3 separate regions of the Homo sapiens genome follow, and regions 1 and 3 are each linked to region 2. Evidence: promoter capture Hi-C in 16 types of primary human blood cells and fetal thymus (Javierre and others, 2016). All regions are on one chromosome and are shown on one strand. The core of a region is centred on a gene start or on the middle of the fragment in contact, and the rest is flanking DNA. Distances in the headings are between cores, read along the strand shown. Region 1 overlaps BAZ2B (bromodomain adjacent to zinc finger domain 2B). Region 2 holds the start of CD302 (CD302 molecule). Region 3 overlaps BAZ2B (bromodomain adjacent to zinc finger domain 2B).

The links. The method cuts DNA at HindIII sites, captures the fragments that hold promoters and counts their contacts. A CHiCAGO score of 5 or more calls a contact.
Region 1: a fragment that was not itself captured here is called in contact with the fragment with the promoter of CD302 in region 2 in 1 of 17 cell types (neutrophils); the score reaches 6.5 in neutrophils.
Region 3: a fragment that was not itself captured here is called in contact with the fragment with the promoter of CD302 in region 2 in 1 of 17 cell types (neutrophils); the score reaches 5.2 in neutrophils.

Annotation. Positions count from the first base shown.
Region 1 is chr2:159,504,084-159,508,042 of GRCh38, forward strand. The region is part of intron 2 of BAZ2B (bromodomain adjacent to zinc finger domain 2B); the gene reads right to left. Among named protein-coding and RNA genes, the nearest start is that of BAZ2B-AS1, 110 kb to the right of the region's middle. The HindIII fragment of the contact is 995 bases long and covers 1,407-2,401 here.
Region 2 is chr2:159,796,607-159,800,666 of GRCh38, forward strand. It overlaps CD302 (CD302 molecule), which reads right to left and starts at 1,602. Exons shown (of 6, transcript NM_014880.5): 1 at 1,526-1,602. The coding sequence starts at 1,592. All of the region lies in intron 33 of LY75-CD302 (LY75-CD302 readthrough), which reads right to left. LOC124906083 (a long non-coding RNA gene) reads left to right here. Exons shown (of 2, transcript XR_007087273.1): 1 at 1-1,346; 2 at 2,213-3,646. The HindIII fragment of the contact is 1,931 bases long and covers 954-2,884 here.
Region 3 is chr2:159,470,073-159,474,206 of GRCh38, forward strand. All of the region lies in intron 3 of BAZ2B (bromodomain adjacent to zinc finger domain 2B), which reads right to left. Among named protein-coding and RNA genes, the nearest start is that of BAZ2B-AS1, 140 kb to the right of the region's middle. The HindIII fragment of the contact is 2,198 bases long and covers 585-2,782 here.

The DNA of each region.
Region 1 (3,959 bases), core at 654-3,153, 290 kb before region 2:
AATTCTTCTGATAAGAGATGCATGTTGGCACTTAGGCCTCTTAATTTTTTTTTTGTAATACTTCTTTATTTTATTTTTTTAATTTATTATTATTATACTTTAAGTTTTAGGGTACATGTGCACAATGTGCAGGTTAGTTACATATGTATACATGTGCCATGCTGGTGTGCTGCACCCACTAACTCGTCATCTAGCATTAGGTATATCTCCCAATGGCCTCTTAATTTTAATAAAGTGTTGAAACCTTAAAAATTTTTTTTAAGAGATGAGGGTCTTACCATGTTGCCCAGGCCCAAGTGCAGTGGATATTCACAGGCAGACCCTAGTGCACTTTAGCCTCTAACTCCTGGCCTCAAGCAATCCTCCTGCCTCAGCTTCCTGCGTAGTTGAGACTACAGGCACATAGCACTCTGTCCAGATTGAACCTTAAAATTTAACTTGCCAACCAAGAAATCTATTTGTGCCAATAAACTCTGCTTTTCCATATTTATATCAAACTTCTCAAATTCACTAAAGGCAGGGAGTTAGGCACCACTAGTTTATTTGTGTAAGCTAATTTTATTTTACTAAAAACACATCAATACCTTGGGATTAATCCAGTCACATTTGGTTTATCAGTCCCATATTGAACATCCTTCTCTCTTAAGACATATATTGGAATCTCATAAAAGGCAAATAGGGTTCTACTCAGCTTAAACCGTAAGATAATTTTTATATAAATATGCAATACTATATACAAATACATAAAAACACAAGTCCAGAACATTCCTTTAGCTATCAAAGTTCTACATGAACTTATTTGGTTCTCTAGTTCAATCTGTATATATAAGCTATATTTTAAACAAAGGTGCAGAGAGCAATTATCTTTCACAATCTGCCTTAGATGATAGAACTTAATTTATAAAGCTACATATTTATTATATAATCATGCTCAACTGATTTTAATCTTGATGGACAAAGAATAATATTATGAAAATGACTTATGCAATATCTTCAAATAAAAGTAATAAGCTCATTGTAAATGGAGGTAGTCATATACTTAGAGAAAACTTGACCAATAAAAATCTTAATTTAGAAAACAGTGAAGCAAAGAAGTATATGTAATTTCATAGAAGAGAATTCCAGCAGAGTGTCATCTCGTAGTTTTTCAAGTATTTTCTGAGTGTAAAATGAATTTTTTACTTCATAAACAAGTTTACCATACAATTCCTTTAATGTAATGATTCACAAGCCTGGCTGCATATTAGAAACACATGGGGGATCTCAAATATATATAAATCTGTGACAAGGCCCATCTCCAGATCAATTATATCAGAATCTCTGGGGGTGGGGATGTAAGCATTAACAGGTTGGGAAGCCCTCCAGAAGATTCCAAGGTTAAGAATCACTGCCATAGAGCTTTTATAAGCTTCACTATTGCCAGATTATGTCAATTTTGAAGTTCAAATGAAAATAATAACTAACATTCACTGTCTTGTTGGCCCAGTACTTAATATTAAAGATGCTATAAGACTCACTAAAACAAACAAAAATTTAAAAAGAAAGAAAATATCTGCTAATATAAGGGAATGGGAAAATATCTGCTAATATAAAGAATGGGAAAAATATACAGATAGCTTGGATGAAAAGGTCCCATAAGAAGGCGGCAAGAATATAGAATTCATCATCATCTTAAGCCCCAAAAGCCAAGTAGGAAAATAAAAGGAGAACAATTCATACAAGTAACAGCAGGTATGTGTATAAGGCAGCTTCTAAAACCTGAAACTGACAATGAAAGACTTGAAAAATAATTGGCTTTACTGCTAACTGAGGCTCTGAATAGTTACACATTGGCAAGCTAAGCGTATAATACATTATAAACTATCTACCCGGTGTCCAGATGAGCACTCAGGATGAGAGGTAACAAGGACAGTTGTGAGAACTCCCAGCTATCCTCCTGTCAACAATGACAGAGAATCTGAAACGGATCTCTCCTTTCCAAGAGTCTTCTGCCCCTCCCAAAAATCTCTTACAAGGGCTGGCTGGCAAGTTTACTATAACTAGAGTAGGCATATGGAAAGGTGGTAGCAGGACCTCCACCCCTCCGAAAAAATTTCTACAAGGACATGTGACTACCTGGGTAAGGCTCTCTACCCATGAATCCCTTGCTAGGTAATCCTTACCATGGTCTATTGCTTCTTGAGGCTCTACCTCACCTATATCCAGAGCGAGCCAGGATGACAGGAGGGAAACTGGACCTAGCAATGGAACCTACTGACCCAGCTATCCAGGAGATCTGAGCTGTAATATGCTGTATTACACTAGGATAAATGAATATCCACAAAGTTCCATTTCAACATCATGTCTAAGGAATGATTAACAAGCAGATTTGAACATACAGATACTTATTAGGAAATAGAAAAGCTTCCAGAAAGGGTTGATGTAGACTTCTATTAGCTGCTTAGATGGAGGAATATCTCCTGGTACTTGGGCAGTAACTCCGCAAAGAACCAGATCGGCCCAGTCCAGAAAAACTCCAAACTTTCAGGAAGATTACTATGAATACTTCAGGCACAGCTTAGAAAAGCTTAAAAAAGAAAGCCTGCGTTTCAGAAACTGTGTTATCTATAAGAATACAGGACCAACAAGGGAAACACCATTACCACAATGTCTTTTCTCCTCTCAGTTTTTAACCCTGAAAACTTTCCTTTTGGGATCACAAACAAATAATAGAGAGTACTGAGTTCTTTTCCACCCTCAGTAATTTGTGTCCTAGAGTGAAAGGAGGATAAGAAAAAGGAAAAGAGAAAGAGTAATTCAAGCAAGAGAATCTAACAAGCAAGATAAACTATCCAAAGAGGTCAGAGTCTGAAAACTGGCACTACTGGTGGGACTGATGAATAATCCATTACTCACACACAAATCTCTTGTTCAGTGTCAGGTGCAATACTTTGTGGAGCAGGTCAACATAAAAGTAATGGTACTTCTACTAAGTTATCTAAACTATAATTATAAAAGTTTTAGATTCATGGGGCCCCAAAATAAAGTCTGGTATAATTACAAATCAAGGCCTTCTGAAAAATGCTTAGATGGTCGTCAAAGAGAGATTAGGTGGCTGCAAAGAAGAGCTAAATGGTTTTGAGAACAAAAAACTTGAGGTTTCCTGTGTAAAATATAGCCTGATACATTAAAGAGAAGTACAAAACTTGAAGAAATAGGCTCCAGAAAAAGTTTATTAGGCAACAGATCAACAGCTGATTTAGTAATGAAAGTTAGGCTTCAAACAACTACGACAGTGAGGAGGTTAAAAAAAAAATCTAAACAATTATATCTAGAAAGAATATTAATTCCAAGTTTTGGGTGAAAACTAAGAGTTGGAAAGGTGTTTCTTTGAAGAGAAAAGCAGTGGTCTCCCTAAAAAAATTTCATTTGAATTTCACATATACTAGAGGTCCAGAAAGTTCTAAGGTATTAAGGGTTTTTGAATGTGTGTCTGCTTGTGTATAAGGGATTAATATGACTTCGGAAAATTTGATGTATTTTTCAATCAATGCACTAAAACATTAGGAATCAAATTAGATCTAGGATTCATTATAATCTTCCTACCATGAGAAGTAATCTAAATTGAATAACCAAAAAACTTTAAAATAAGAAAATGAGAAGGGACAAAGTGGGTAAGAGTTATACTAAAGGTATGATTACTTTTAAAAAGAAGGAACTTAAACGTTTTAAAAACGGAGGTTCAAAAGAGATCATGTTGTTTCAAAATGGAGGTAGAGACGTTTTGAAATAAAAATAACAGCACTACGTAAGTTACTTATTTATTTATTTAGAGTCTCCCTCTGTCGCCCAGGCTGGAGTGCAAGTGGCATGATCTCAGCTTGCCACAACCTCCACCTCCCGGTTCAAGTGATTCTTGTGCCTCAGTTTCCCGATTAGCTGGGATTACAGTCATGCGCCACCATGCCCAGCTAATTTTT
Region 2 (4,060 bases), core at 352-2,851:
CTGACTGGGAGGAGCTGATTAATTAACATTAATTTATTCATCATGCACTTTTCTAAAGCTCTTGAAAAGCCTATTGATCCACACTGGACTTATCAAAGGAAATGCACAAAAATTTCCAAAGGGAAATTTGCCCTCTATTGCTGGTCAAAACAGCTTCACTGAAGAAGAGACATACCAAAATCTAGAAACTGATTTTCTTTAAAAGTCTGACAAGAAAGAAAAATCTGACAAGAAAATTCGACTAGCCTAAAGTACAAATGCACAGCCTCGCAGAGGGTGGTTTACATGAGAGTTGAGATGTTACTGGCTCGCAAAATGAGGGTGTGCAGAAGGAGGGTTCAGAGACAGCCCAGCTTTGTCTTAGACAAAATTAATGTTCCCAGTCTGAACAATGTGAACATGGGCACATCTTGTTTCTGCCCCTTTGATAGGCAGCAGATGTCACAACCAGTCATAAATGCAGGTCCACAGAAGTTTTCAAGAAAGGAACCTTGGGTTTGTATCCAAGTTCTGAGCTGCTGCTGCCTCCAACACTGAGGTCCACTGAAATATTCCTGTCAGTAGACTTCGAGCAGGCAGTTATTATAAAAACGCAGTGAAATCTGGGGCAAGGGGTGGGGGGGGGGAATCTCTTGCATTTTATTTAAATCTCTTGCACTTTATTTAAGCCCACACAAGTACTCATTTAGTTCTTGTTTATTTTGCTCTTTAATTCCTGGAATTATTCAGTCAGTGGTGTTTTTGGAAGTCTGTGTTCTCCAGAGTCTCCCCATCCACATATTTTTGACATGCTTGTATGGAAATTTTTTAAAAATAAAGACCACGGTCAATAGAATTGTGCATTTTCCTCACGAGTCGTTTTGTAAATGAATGATCACGTGTGTGATTTTTCAGATGTCACTTGCACAACAGCAGACTAGAACTTTAAAACTCCTTGATTTCAGTGAAATCCAAGCTTTGCCTATTCCCGTTCCTCTTCCATCCAGGGGTTATTTGGCTGAACTGTTTTCCTGTTTAAACAACTTGAACACCAACCAACTAGACAAACAGCGCTGCTTGCAAAAGAGGGCCTACTTCCTCCGGCCCCCACCCCCATCCCAGCAACCCCACTCCGGCCGCGCACCAGCAGGGGAAATCGCCACCAACGTCCCCGCTTCTCATTTCAGCCCGAAATTGCCCTGAAACGGCGCCCGTCGTGCGACTCCAAGTCCCTCAGTTCTCCGGCCAACTGGCCTAATTTGGGGGTTCCCTCCCCGCGGAGTGGGGTCTGCGGTGAGGATGTGGACTCCGAGGAAGACAGAGCCCTCCCTTATTCTCGGCCACCTCCCCTCCCCGAGGGCAGGCGGGTGAGAGGTGACCCGGAGCCAGGACCCACGGGGGACGGGCGTGCAGGGAAGGGCGGGATGGCCGGCCGGGTGTTGCGTCTGCGGGCCGCCCTCGGGTGCGCGGGGACGAAGAGCGTGCGTTGGGAAGGGGGCGAAGGCGGTCGCGCACGGTCCCGGCGAGGGACTACGTAAGGGCTTACCCGCGACGGCAGCAGCGGCGAGGCCCAGCAACGGCAGCAGGAGCGCGGGCAGCGCGGCCCGGAGCATGACGGCGGGTGCGGGTGGGCGGCAGCGGCTGCGCGGCCGGAGAGGAGCGGGGCGGGGCGGGAGCGGGGGCGGTGCTTCTCGCGTGCGAGTTTAATCCCCCCCCCGGGCGGAACGTGAACGGCACTGGGGGCTCCCACCAGGAGAACCCGGGTGTCCCGTCCCGCAGGAGCGGCTGGCGCGCGGCCTTCTGGAACTTCTAATTTTTGTTTTTTAAACTTTTCATTTGAATTGAAATAATTTAGGACTTTCGAAAATGTTGCAAAAACAGCACAAGAGATTTCCGTAACCCTTCAGCCAGCTTCTCTAAATATTGACATTGTATATAACGCCAGTGCAGTGATCAAACACAGGGCACTCGCACTGGGATAATGCGATTAGCTAATCTACAGCACTTACCACATTTCATTAATTGCCCCTCTAAGGGTCCTTTTCTGTTCCAAGATTCAATCCAGGATCATACATTGCATGTCGTGTCTCCTTAGTCTCCCTTTAATCTAGGACGGTTCTCTGTCATTCTTTTTCTTTCACGATCAAACCACATTTAAAAAGTACTGGCCAGTCGTTTTGTAGAATGTCCCTCAGTTTCATTTTGTCTGACATTTCCTTCTAATTGGATTCAGGTTGCGCTTTTTTGGGAAAGAGTTCCCCAGAAGTGATGTACGTGCTCGAGAAGGACAAGATGTCGATGTCTCATCACTGATGTTAACTTGGATCAGTTGGTTAAGGTGGCGTTTGCCAGCCTTCTTCTTTGGATCTACTGGCCAGAATCCTCCTTTTCAAAGACCCCTTTCAGTGGACTATGTCTCTTAGACAACTTTTCTCTGTTACCAGCTCCTGGATGAAGAGTCTTTAAGCTATGTTTGCTACAATGTATGCATAAACTGTGCAATTATACTTCACCCATGAGGGCCTCTGGACAACACTAGCCAGGGTCAAGCAAGGGTGCTTGTTTAAGCCTCATGTCATTGGCAAAAGAGTTCTATAAAATCAAGTCTAAACTCAACAACGTGAAAACAAATGACCCAGTTAAAAAAAATGGTCAGATGATCTGAATACACACGTCATCAAAGAAGTTATATAATGGCAAATAGATGAAAAGATGCTCAACATCATATGTCATTGCTGAATTGTATATGAAAACAAAAATGAAATACCACTACATACCTATTAGATACCAGAATCCAAAAACACTGACAAGACCACATGCTGGCAAAGATGTGGAGCAAAAAGAACTCTCATTCAATGCTGGTGCAAATGCAAAATGGTACAGCCACTTTGGAAGACAATTTGGAAGCTTCTTCCAAAACTAAACGTACTCTTACCATACCATCTAGCAATCACAACTCCTTGGTATTTATCCAAATGAGTTAAAAACTTACATACACACAAAAACCTGCACATGAATGTTGATAGCAGCTTTATTCATAATTGCCAGAACCTAGAGGCAAACAAGATGTCCTTCAATAAGTGAATGGATAAACAATGGCACATCCAAACAATGAAATGTTACTCAGTACCAAAATTAAATGAGCTATCAAGCCACAAAAAGACATGGAAGAACTTTAAATATGTATTGCTAAGAGAAAGAAGCCAATCTGAAAAGACTGCATACTATATGATTCCAACTATATGACATTTTAGACAAGGCAAAACTATGGAGACAGTAAAAAGATAAATGGTTGCCAGGGGTTGGGGTGGGAAGAAGGAGGGGATGAATAGATGGAACACAGAGGATTTTTAGAGCCATGAAATTATTCTGTAGGATACTGTAATGGTAGATGTGTATCACTATACATGTGTCAAAACCCATAGAATGCACAAAACGAAGATGAACCCTAGTGTGGACAATGGACTTTAGTTAATAATGTGTCAATATTGGCTCATCCACTGTAACAAATGTACCTGCTAATGCAAGATGTTAATAATTGGGGAAACTGGGGTATGTGTAAGGAGGTACATGGGAGCTCTGTACCTTCTGCTACATTTTTTGTATACATCTAAAACTGCTCAAAAATTAGTCTATTTTTAAAAAAATAAAATCTGACCCTTTCCAACTCTTTCTAACCCTTTCCACACTTCTGATAATCCAGAGTGGTTACACCAAGGAAATTTGACCCAAGGGGTCTATAAGGAGAGTCATAGAGTGTTAGAAGTGGTACTAGTAAGGAAATTGAGTGACCCAAAGAAGGGATGTGATTCCCCCGTGGGCTCACAGAGAATGCCAACAAATGAACCAGAGCCCAGCTCCTCTGCTGGACTCTCCCACCTATTCCAGGTTCTGCCCCTTTGCCAAAGTATTAAGGTCTTGCTTAACTTATTTACTTCCATTTTTCTTCTCAGGCTGCCAATACTGAGTTTATTATATACCAAACTCCAGACCAGAGCAAATCCTTCCAAAGATACTCTATATTGGAATATTGACACATCTTGATTCTGGACCCTTTTGCCCTCCTAACTACAGAAGTAAA
Region 3 (4,134 bases), core at 434-2,933, 330 kb before region 2:
TTCTGAAAGGATAACCCATCATAACCAAGTGGGATTAATCCTTGAAATGCAAGATTGGCTTAACTATAAAAAAATTAATCAATGTAATTTGCCAAAATAGCAAGTTAAAAGGAAAAAGCCATATAATCATTTCAAAAAGTGCAGAAAATGCATGTGACAATATTTAATACCAATTCATAATAAAAGACTCTCAGCAAAGAACGAATAGAAGGGAACTGTCTCAGTAATTGCCAGGGCAGGGATGGAGGGAGGAATTTAACTTCAAAAAGATACAAGGCAACTTCCTGGAGTAATAAAATTGTCCTACAGCCTGGAGGTTACATGAATATATACATTTGTCAAAATTCATTAAAGTATACATTTAAAATGGTGAATTATATTGTACATAAATCACACCAAAATAAAGAAACTAAAAGTAGGAGGGTTTGCATGTGCAGCTTCACTCTGTTCTGAGAGGAACAGATAAAAGCAGGGCAAGCATAGAAGTGGAGAGCCAGTTAGAAAGAACTGCAATGATATAGACGAGAGATTTTAGTGCAGACTAGGGCAGTGGTAGCAGAGACAGAAAGAAGTGTACAGACTCAAGCTTTATTTTGAAGGTAGAATCAACAGACTTTAGATGTGAGGGTGAAAGAGAAATAGATAAATCCAGAGATCACTATATTTATGGCTTAAGCTACTGGATGATTGTGGTATCATTTAATGATAGAGAATGTGAAGGAAACAGGTTTTGGGAGAAAACCAAAAGTTTGTTTTTTGGATGTGTTAAATTTGTTAAGTTTGAGATGTCTATAAAACCTCTATGTAAAATGTATATGTTCAGGAGCTCAGAGAGAAAGTCTGGGCAGAGTCTTCCTATAGGTGTATTTAAACAAAAAGACAAGAAATAACAGGCCTCAGAATCAAGGCTTGGAAAATGCAAGCCTTGATTTATGAGTACAGGAATCTGGGGGAAAAAAAAAACTTAAGAAGGAGTTGTATAAAAAAATTTAGAGAAAAACTATGAGTAGTATAATGGAAGCTAAAAGGAAAGATTTTCAAGAAGAAGAGAGTGGTCAGCTATGTCAAATTCTGCTGAGGTTGAATGAGATGAGGCTAGAAAGATGACACTGCTGTGAGTTGGGATGTGTGTGAAAGACAAGAAGAAAGCATATGTAACTATCTCCTTTCAGAAGTTGGGCTGTGAGCATTCTGGCAGAAAACAGGGCAATAGCCAGAAGAGTATTGGGATATAAAAATGGTTTGGGGGCCAGGCGCAGTGGCTCACATCTGTAATCCCAACACTTCGGGAGGCTGAAGCAAGAGGATCGCTTTAGCCCAGGAGTTTGAGACCAGTCTGGACAACAGAGTGAGTCTCTACAAAAAAAAATTTTAAAAATTAGCTGTGCTTGCCTGTAGTCCCAGCTACTAAGGAGGCTGAGGTTGGGGGATTGCCTGAGCCTCAAAGGTTGAGACTGCAGTGAGCTGTGATCACACCACTGCACTCCAGCCAGACAAAGTGAGACTCTGTCTCCCCCTGGCTCCCCCTAAAAAGAAGGTGTTTTGTATATACTGCTTTTTTTAGGATGGGTGATACTAAGAGCATGCTTTTATACTGATGAACATGATCCAGTAGATAAAGAAGAACTAATGATAAAGTACAGAAGAAATGAAGTACTGAAAAAGTCCTTTATAATCTTTAATAAAAAACCAATAGATATTTGCTATTGTCTGTGAAAGTTAAGAGCCATATCACTTTGAGTTGAGCATTTATTCTATTTGGCTTAATTTATATTCTTACATAGAACAGGATTTCAAAGGAGATTTGTAATAAATATACATAAGCTACTAGATGCACTACTGAAATAGATTTTAAAGAAATGGGCTGTTGAAATGGGAATAAAGTTCATACACATGTATCAGAAAAGTTTATTACAATACAGAGCTGGGGAGATATGGCAGAGGAGCTATAATCAGATGAGTTCAAATGGGTAGATAATTGGTTCATTCAAGATTTGTTTCAACTTCTTTTTAGTGAGCATGGAATGTTTTTCCATTTGTTTGTGTCCTCTCTTATTTCCTCGAGCAGTGGTTATAGTTCTCCTTGAAGAGGTCCTTCACATCCCTTGGAAAGTTGTATTCCTAGGTATTTTATTTTCTTTGTAACAATTGTGAATGGGAATTTACTCATGATTTGGCTGTTTGTCTATTATTGCTGTATAAAAATGCTTGTGATTTTTGCACATTGATTTTGTATCCTGAGACTTTGCTGAAGATGCTTATCAGCTTAAGGAGATTTTGGGCTGAGATGATATATACAATCATGTCATCTGCAAACAGAGACAATTTGATTTCCTCTTTTCTACTGGAAATTTTCTATTGGAAATTTTCTATTCCTCTTTCCTCTATTGGAATACCCTTTCTTTCTTTCTCTTGCCTGATGGCCCTGGCCAGAACTTCCAATACTATTTTGAATAGGAGTGGTGAGAGAGGGCATCTTTGTCTTGTGCCGGTTTTCAAAGGGAATGCTTCCAGCTTTAGCCCATTCAGTATGATATTGGCTGTGGGTCTGTAATAAATAGCTCTTATTATTTGGAGATAGGTTCCATCAATACCTAGTTTATTGAGAGGTTTTAGCATGAAGGGGTGTTGAATATTATCGCAGGCCTTTTCTGCATCTATTGAAATAATCGTGTGGATTTTGTCATTGTTTCTGTTTATGTGATGGATTACGTTTATTGATTTGTGTATGTTGAACCAGCCTTGCATCCCAGGGATGAAGCTGACTTGATCGTGGTGGATAAGCTTTTTGATGTGCTGCTGGATTCGATTTGTCAGTATTTTATTGAGGATTTTTGCATCAATGTTCATTAGGGATATTGGCCTGTAATTTTCTTTTTTTGTCGTGTCTCTGCCAGGTTTTGGTATCAGGATGATGCTGGCCTCATAAAATGAGTTAGGGAGAATTCCCTCTTTTTCTATTGTTTGGAATAGTTTCAGAAGGAATGGTACCAGCTCCTCTTTGTACCTCTGGTAGAATTCGGCTGTGAATCTGTCTGGTCCTGGGCTTCGTTTGGTTGGTAGACTATTAGTTACTGGCTCCTCTTTGTACCTCTGGTAGAATTTGGCTGTGAATCCATCTGGTCCTGGGCTTCATTTGGTTGGTAGACTACTAGTTACTGCCTCAGTTTCAGAACTTGTTATTGGTCTATTCAGGGATTCGACCTCTTCCTGGTTTTGTCTTGGGAGGGTGTATGTGTCCAGGAATTTATCCATTTCTTTTAGATTTCTAGTTTATTTGCATAGAGGTGTTTATAGTACTCTCTGATGGTAGTTTGTATTTCTGTGGGATCAGTGGTGATATCCACTTTATCATTTTTATTGCATCTATTTGATTCTTCTCTCTATTTTTTATTAGTCTGGCTAGCAGTCTATTTTGTTGATCTTTTCAAAAAACCAGCTCCTGGATTCATTGATTTTTTGAGGGGTTTTTTGTTTCTCTATCTCCTTCAGTTTTATTCTGATTTTAGTTATTTCTTGTCTTCTGAGAGCTTTTGAATTTGTTTGCTCTTGCTTCTCTAGTTCTTTTAATTGCGATGTTAGGGTGTTGATTTTAGATCTTTCCCGCTTTCTTTTGTGGGCATTTAGTGCTATAAATTTCCCTCTAAACACTGCTTTAGCTGTGTCCCAGAGATTCTGGTACATTGTGTCTTTGTTCTCATTGGTTTCAAGGAACATCTTTATTTCTGCCTTCATTTCATTATTTACCTGGTAGTCATTCAGGACCAGGTTATTCAGTTTCCATGCAGTTGTGTGGTTTTGGGTGAGTTTCTTAATCCTGAGTTCTAATTTGATTGCACTGTGGTCTGAGAGACTGTTTGTTATGATTTCTGTTCTTTTGCACTTGCTGAGGAGTGTTTTACTTCCAATTATGTGGTCAGCTTTAGAATAAGTGAGACGTGGTGCTAAGAAGACTCTATATTCTGTTGATTTGGGGTGGAGAGTTCTATAGATGTGTATTAGGTCTGCTTGGTCCACAGCTGAGTTCAAGTCCCGAATATCCTTGTTAATTTTCTGTTTTGGTGATCTAATATTGGAAGTGGGGTGTTTAAGTCATCCACTGTTACTGTGTGGGAGTCTAATTCTCTTTGCAGG